2 separate regions of the Homo sapiens genome follow, and region 1 is linked to region 2. The links are contacts of gene promoters, found by promoter capture Hi-C in blood cells and fetal thymus (Javierre and others, 2016). All regions are on one chromosome and are shown on one strand. Each heading gives the region's core, a stretch centred on a gene start or on the middle of the fragment in contact. The rest is flanking DNA. Distances are from core to core; before and after follow the strand shown.

Region 1 (3,408 bases), core at 558-3,057, 520 kb before region 2:
GTGGCCAGTGCCTGTAGTTACAGCTAGTTGGGAGGCTGAAGTGGGAGGATCGCTTGAGCCCAGGAGGTTGAGGCTACAGTGAGTGAGAGGGCCAATGCGCTTAAGCATGGGCAACAGAGTGAGATCCTGTCTCAAAAAAAAAAAAAAAAAAAGGCTGGGCGCGGTGGCTCACACCTGTAATCCCAGAACTTTGGGAGGCCGAGGCAGGCAGATCACCATCTAATATTACTGTATTAGAAACAGTAATTACAGCTGAGCTAAATAATCTATGTCATGGATGCTCTTGTGTCTCCTCACAGTATCCTTTTTTCTTTTCTTTTTTTTTTTCTTTTTTTTGAGACGGAGTTTCGCTCTTACTGACCAGGCTGGAGTGCAATGGTGCCATCTCGGCTCACTGCAACCTCCGCCTCCCAGGTTCAAATGATTCTCCTGCCTCAGCCTCCCAAGTAGCTGGGATTACAGGCTCCCGTCACCAGGCCCGGCTAATTTTGTATTTTTAGTGGAGACGGGGTTTCTCCATATTGGTCAGGTTGGTCTCGAACTCCCGACCTCAGGTGATCCGCCCACCTCGGCCTCCCAAAGTGCTGGGATTACAGGCGTGAGCCACTGCGCCCGGCAGACATGGATTATTTAGCCCAGGTTATTAGGGATCTGTAACTCTCATGGGTCTGTTAAGTCTTTCTCAATTTGAGACCTCAAGATGGAGATTTCTTAAAGTGTAGGAACTGTCTATGTCTCTCAGCATCCACCTTTTTCGGAGATTCTATATCTAATGACCTGCGAAGTCAGATCAAATCAGTTTGAGAGACCATCTGTGTTTTTCTCTTGGTCTAGGCTCTAGGTAGGATCTCTGACTGGGTATAGGACCCCACCCCTCTGAGTCCTAGAAATTTAAATTCTTGGTTCCTTTAATGAAGGTCTATTTACCAGCCTTTATTGAGAGAAATGTTATAGAATTGAATCCTCCATGAGGAATGTCTCCCATCAGAGTCCCTTTATGTGGCCTTTAGAAACAGTAATAACAGCTGAGCTAAAGTGCTCTGAGACATCTCACAACCTAGACCCATTTCAAAGTAATTAGAGTTCACAGGACCCACGAATCCTTCAGAATAACAAGTCCCAATTTGCCATGCTCATCCCCCTCTGAGGGATAACGTCCAGCCAGCCTCAAGAGCTAGGGGAATTTGATAACCAGGGGCATCTTGTTACCCGGGAATGTTACCGGGGTCTCTGGGGAGGGAACAATCACGGATGGGAGTTTCAGATGGATGCCTGTAGAAGATGCAGCCACTTGGACTGTGTCAGGAGTCCGGCTCCCGCTTCCTTTTTTTTCTCTCCCATATCTGGAAATAATAGGAAATGCCAGCGAGTTTTGGGGGCAACAGGGTCAGAGGTGGCGGAGTGGCTCACTAGGGCACCGCAGGAAGAGGAGGTAGACTAAGCCCCGCTGGGAATACCCAACAGCGACTCCTAGTGCTTTGCCTTGTGTGTCCCTTATTTTAGAGTTCCTAAAGTTATAGAAAGCATAAAAGTTTGGTTTTCAAACCTAGACGTAATTTTGTTCAAGAAGACTAAAAACAGAGTTACTTTCTAACGCCACCCAACAAGTCCGGCGTCTGGCTGCGTTTGTCCCACCGGCGCCCCGTAACCTCTTTTTCCGGCGCGTGCGTCACACGCTCTCTCCTGGGGTCGCCGTACCTGGCTCCTTCTGATTGGCTTAGATGCGCCCGGAGCCCTTCTGATTGGCTAAAATATGCCCCGAGCCCTTCTTGATTGGAAGAAGCGCCTCGGACCCCGGTCCTTGGCGCCGTAGTGGTTAGGTTGAGCCCTAGGCGTGGGGGAGAACTGGGGAAACTGGAATTTCCCGCGGAGCTGACAGCGCTTGCGCTCCCCCTACTCGTTCTAATTCCACGCGCTCCAAAATATCCGCCATGGAGAAATCTTGGTAATGACCCATTCCCCGTAAGCATCCCAGGAACACATCTGACCCTTGCCCTATCCCCCTCCTCACCGCTGCCGTGGGAGAATTCTAGATAACCGATTTTTCTGGTTCCCCCAGAGAATTCTGGGTAACTAGCCGTTTCCGTCACCTTCCCCTGCCCCCGCCCCAATTGTGGGTAACTGGCCATTATTGTTTTCCTCTAGAGAATCCTGGGTAGCTATTGGAGAGGATTCTAGGAAACTGACTTCTCGTTCTCCCCACCGTCCAATCCACCCGTTTTCACCCCCAATTCTGGGAGAAAGCACCTTAAATCCCTCTACCTAACTCCAACCCCCGCAATTCTCGCTCCCTTCACCTGATGATTCAGGGCTGAACAAGGCAAGTGAGCAGTCCGAAGTGAGAAGAAAGGGAAGTCAAGGATTAGGTTAGATAATGGGGTGGTGGAGAGTACAGAGGGCCTAGCGGAGGAGGGATAGGGACAACAGTTCTACCACCTCCACCCCCACTGCCCATCCCTCCCCCGCCTGCTTCATCCTTTGGCTGGCAGTCTCATCCCTCATGCCTGCCTCATCTCCCTCCTGCCCCCATAACCTAGAAGACCCTAAGTACCAGTACCTGGGCCTACCCTTGACTCAGCTACCTCTTTCCCCTTACAGGCCAGGATGTCCATTCTAGGCCCATCGGTGCTGTCTTGCTGAAGGTTGGGTCAGGCATCTAAAGGGACTGTGGTAAGGGAGGGTGTGACACAGGTGTAAGCTGCCATCGTCATCATGAACTTTGAGGGTCTGGACCCTGGACTGGCAGAATATGCCCCAGCCATGCATTCTGCCCTGGACCCTGTCTTGGATGCCCACCTGAACCCAAGTCTGCTACAGAATGTGGAGCTGGACCCAGAGGGAGTGGCCTTGGAGGCTCTTCCCGTCCAGGAATCAGTGCACATAATGGAAGGTGTCTACTCTGAATTGCACAGCGTGGTGGCTGAAGTGGGTGTACCTGTTTCCGTCTCCCACTTTGACTTGCACGAGGAGATGCTGTGGGTGGGGAGCCACGGGGTAAGAACTGTACCCCTTTGTGAGGGTTGAAAGATGTTGAAGGTCTTTATCTGGTCTTAACCCAAGGAAGCTGCTTTGCAGATAGCCAGTACCGAGGAGTTGTAGTGATGAGACAGCTGGGTCTGGTTGGAGGGATAAAGGGAGAATCTAGGATCTAGGAGTAAATGACATATTCTTTCTCAGGAGGCATCCCTTTTTTTTTTTTTTTTTTTCGAGACAGGGTCTTGCTCTGTCGCCTAGGCCAGAGTGCAATGGCGTAATGTGATCATGGCTCACTGCAGCCTCAATCTCCTGGGCTCACACAATCCTCCCACTTTAGCATCTCAAGTAGCTGGGACTACAGGCATGCGCAACCAAGACCAGCTAATTTTTAAAAAATTTTTTAGTCTTACTATGTTGCCCAGGCTTGTCTCA
Region 2 (3,855 bases), core at 800-3,299:
CCTCACACACCATCTCCAACCACCAGAGAGAACTCACACCTGCAATATTTGGGAAAAACAATTCCAAGGTTAAGATTATCTCTGTTCCATTTCATATCTCGGGTGGGCCCTGCATCTCCTGGTGTTACCATTGGCTGACACTGAATCACAGAAGCTATTTTAAATTGTCTTATGAGACTCTTGGTAGTTTTTTCACACTTAGATATATAAAAAAGTTAAAAAAATATATTAAAAAGAAGAACATTTTAAAAAGTATTTTCTTTTAGGGTAAATTAAGATATCTTGAGTAATTGTCTGTTTGTGGTTTCACAAGTAGTTTTCCCATTAGATGTTTTGGACAAACCAGGCTGATATAGCTGAAACTGAAAAGTGATCCTTTAAAGCTCGAAAAGTTTTTTTTTGTTTTTGTTGCTGTTAAGAAAGCTTAAGGGTAGTAAGGGTAGGGAGAGGACCCTTCTTTAGTCACTTATTAGTTGACCCCAATTAGTCTTTCTGTGAAACTGATGTTTTTCTTACTCTTGGATTCTAAACTCTGTTAGTGGGTTTTTGTGTTATTCTGGAGTTATTGTTAACTTGATGATACTGAAATGCATAGACTATATCAGCGGTCTCTTGATCTTTATTGTGATGAGTTAAAAAAAATTGAGCAATCATCTCCACTTTGTTTATATATACTGTACTTATAGAAATTGTATACTTCTGGACTGTTATAAAATATAACACAGAAAAGGAATTTTTGAATGAGATAAAAAGGAACTATATATAGAAGAGCTAATATTTTCTTCCTATTTGTCCTATTTTTGAAATCCCTGGAGTAAGTCACCAGCTGCCCGATGACTTACTTGCATTTATAGATTGTGTTGGTTTATGGAGTTCCTCCTTCCATCAAATCTGTATTTGTCAGGTCTATATAAAATTTGTATTTGATTGGATAAGTAACTTTTACGTAAAGTCCTCTGACCTGATTTCAGTGTTACAGTCTAAGAGAACATTAGGCACTCCTGACAGCCTAAAAAGGACTTGCTCTTTAATCACATTTGCTTGTCTTTGCTTTTTCTCTAGAGCACTTCTTAACCTTTTGGAGGTCACAGATATCTTTGAAACTCTGATGAAAGGTATGGACCCTCTCCCCAGAAAAAGGCATGTACACATATTTTGCATGCAGTTTGAGGGGCTTCATAAAACTACCTTGTAGCCCCGAGGAGTCCATGGACCTCTGGTTAAGAACTCATGCCTTTAGCTGGGCGTGGTGGCTCACGTCTGTAATCCTAGCACTTTGGGAGGCCTAGGCGGGCGGATTGCTTGAGGCCAGGAGTTCGAGACCAGCCTGGGCAACATGGCGAAACCCCGCCTCTACCAAAAATGCAAAAATTAGCCAGGTGTGGTGGCAAGTGCCTGTAGTCCCAGCTATTGAGGAGGCTGTGAGGAGGCTGAGGCACAAGAATCGCTTGAGCCCGGGTTGGAGGTTGCAGTGAGCCGAGATGGTGTACTGCACTCCAGCCTGGGGGACAGTGAGACTCCGTCTCAAAAAGAAAAAAAGAACTCATGCCTTTGATTCTGATTTTTAGGACAATTAATGTTTGGTTCCACTGGTGATCTTGATGCAATGATCCTGACTTCTGGGTTGACTTGGGGTTTTATTGCCTTAAAAAAAAATCTTGGCTGGGTGCAGTGACCCACACCTGTAATCCCAACTCTTTGGGAGGCGGAGGCCAGGAGTTTGAGACCAGCTTAGGTAACATAGTGAGACCCTGTCTCTACAAAAAAAATTAAAAAATTAGCTGGGCATGGTGGCACACACCTGTAGTCCCAGCTCCTCAGGAGGCTGAAGTGGGAGGATTGCTTGAGCCTGGGAGGCCAAGGCTGTGGTCAGCTGTGTGATAATTGCTCCACTGCACTTCAGCCTGGGTGACAAAGGGAGACCTTGTCTCAAAAAAAAGAAAATAAAAAAATCTCTCCATTGTCATAAAGAGAATTTTGGGCTTTGGTATGGAACCTCAGGGGAAGGGAATACCTTTTGAAGCAGGAAGGAAACATAGTATGTATCTGAGTTGATATGTAATGTCATATCAACAGCAAATTTCTGAGGATTTTGTAGAAATGCAGTCATTCTTTTTTTTTTTTTTTTAAATTGAGATGGAGTCTCGCTCTGTCGCCCAGGTTGGAGTGCAGTGGCAAGATCTCGGCTCGCTGCAACCTCCGCCTTCCAGGTTCAAGCAATTCCCGTGCCTCAGCTTCCCGAGTAGCTGGGATTACAGGCACGTGCCACCATGCCTGGCTAATTTTTGTATTTTTAGTAGAGATGGGGTTTCACCATGTTATTGGTCCGGCTGGACTTGACTGACCTCAGGTGATCCTCTTGCCTTGGCCTCCCAAAGTGCTGGGATTATAGGCATGAGCCACCACTCCTGGCCCATACTAACACATTTGGAAAGAGAGATTGAACTGTGGATGAAAATGGCTTGAACTGTAACAGTATCAGATATCCAGTCAAACATTAGAAAAGGAACTATTGCAGAGGAGAGGAGAAAGTGATAGTAGTGTCAGAGTGTTGAGAATAGTGAGACATTTGTATTGAAAAGTGAAGTGAGGAAATATATTGGTAGTTGAAGATAGTTTGGAAAGGAAAATAGGTAAACTATAAAGGTAAATCAGAGTGATATTGAAAAGGGCTTTCTAAGTTATGTAAGGACTTCTGGCCTTTGTCATGTAAGAAGTAGGGCTGGGAGCCTTTGGAAGTTTGAAAGGAGGAGCTTGATGTGATCAGCTTGTATTCTCTTGGCGGATGGGATTTGTAGGGGGAGCGATTTCACCACTTAGATATTTATTATAGGAGTCATTCCCCTGCTTAAAACCTTTAAATTATATCCCTGCCCGTCTCTCCAGCATAGTTACTAACTCTTCAACTACTGTGGCCTTATTTTATTTAATTTCTTCAGAATGCTTCATCAATTGCCAACACTTAGCATTTGTTATGTGGCAAAGCACTGTTTGAAGCCATTTACATACACTAACTGATTTAATTCTCATAATAACCCTGTAAGGTAAATACCTGTATTATCCTCATTTGAAAATAAGAAAAACCATAGCTCAGAGAGAGTAACTGAGTAACTTGCCTTAGGTTGCACAGCTAAAATGTTGTATATTAAATCCAAGCAGGCTGGGTGCAGTGGCTCACGCTTGTAATCCCAGTACTTTGGGAGGCCGAGGCAGGCGGATCACCTGAGGTCGAGAGTTCGAGACCAGCCTGACCAACATGGAGAAACCCCGTCACTATTAAAAATACAAAATTAGCTGGGCGTGATGGCACATGCCTGTAATCCCAGCTACTCGGGGGGCTGAGGCAGGAGAATCACTTGAACCGCGTAGGTGGAGGTTGCGGTGAGCCGATATGGCACCATTGCACTCCAGCCTGGGCAACAAAAGTGAAACTCCGTCTCAAAAAAAAAAAAAAAAAAAAAATTCCAGGCAGCCTGTGTCCAAAATTCATGTTCTAATCATTGCACACTGCTTCTCCCTCTTACCTCAACCTAGAACCTTCACATATGCTGCAATTGGAGTTTTCTTTCGGCTGTAGTACTCCGGCTGCCCTTCCTCCCTAACACGTTTATCTAATTAATTACTACACCCCTTTCAGGTGTTTCACTCAAATATTATTTACCCAAGGAAGCTTTCTATGTTCTATCCACAAACATGGTCAGGCCACTTTTTATATAATTTCATAAGACCCTGTGTGTTCTTAAAAAATCAGCTAAACATGCCGGGCACGGTGGCTCATGCCTGTAATCCCAGCACTTTGGGAGGCCAAGGTGGGCAGATCACGAGGTCAGGAGTTTGAGACCAGCCTGACCAATA

Evidence for each region. The method cuts DNA at HindIII sites, captures the fragments that hold promoters and counts their contacts. A CHiCAGO score of 5 or more calls a contact.
Region 1: the fragment with the promoter of PAN2 here is called in contact with a fragment that was not itself captured in region 2 in 1 of 17 cell types (naive CD8 T cells); the score reaches 5.4 in naive CD8 T cells.

What each region holds. Positions count from the first base shown.
Region 1 is chr12:56,332,399-56,335,806 of GRCh38, reverse strand. It overlaps PAN2 (poly(A) specific ribonuclease subunit PAN2), which reads left to right and starts at 1,807. Exons shown (of 26, transcript NM_014871.6): 1 at 1,807-1,945; 2 at 2,599-2,994. The coding sequence starts at 2,713. RefSeq lists enhancers at 1,370-1,539, 1,457-1,676, 1,802-1,971 and cis regulatory regions at 1,886, 1,871-1,902. The HindIII fragment of the contact is 11,393 bases long and covers 1-3,408 here.
Region 2 is chr12:55,813,147-55,817,001 of GRCh38, reverse strand. All of the region lies in intron 1 of SARNP (SAP domain containing ribonucleoprotein), which reads left to right. Among named protein-coding and RNA genes, the nearest start is that of SARNP, 2.6 kb to the left of the region's middle. The HindIII fragment of the contact is 3,247 bases long and covers 426-3,672 here.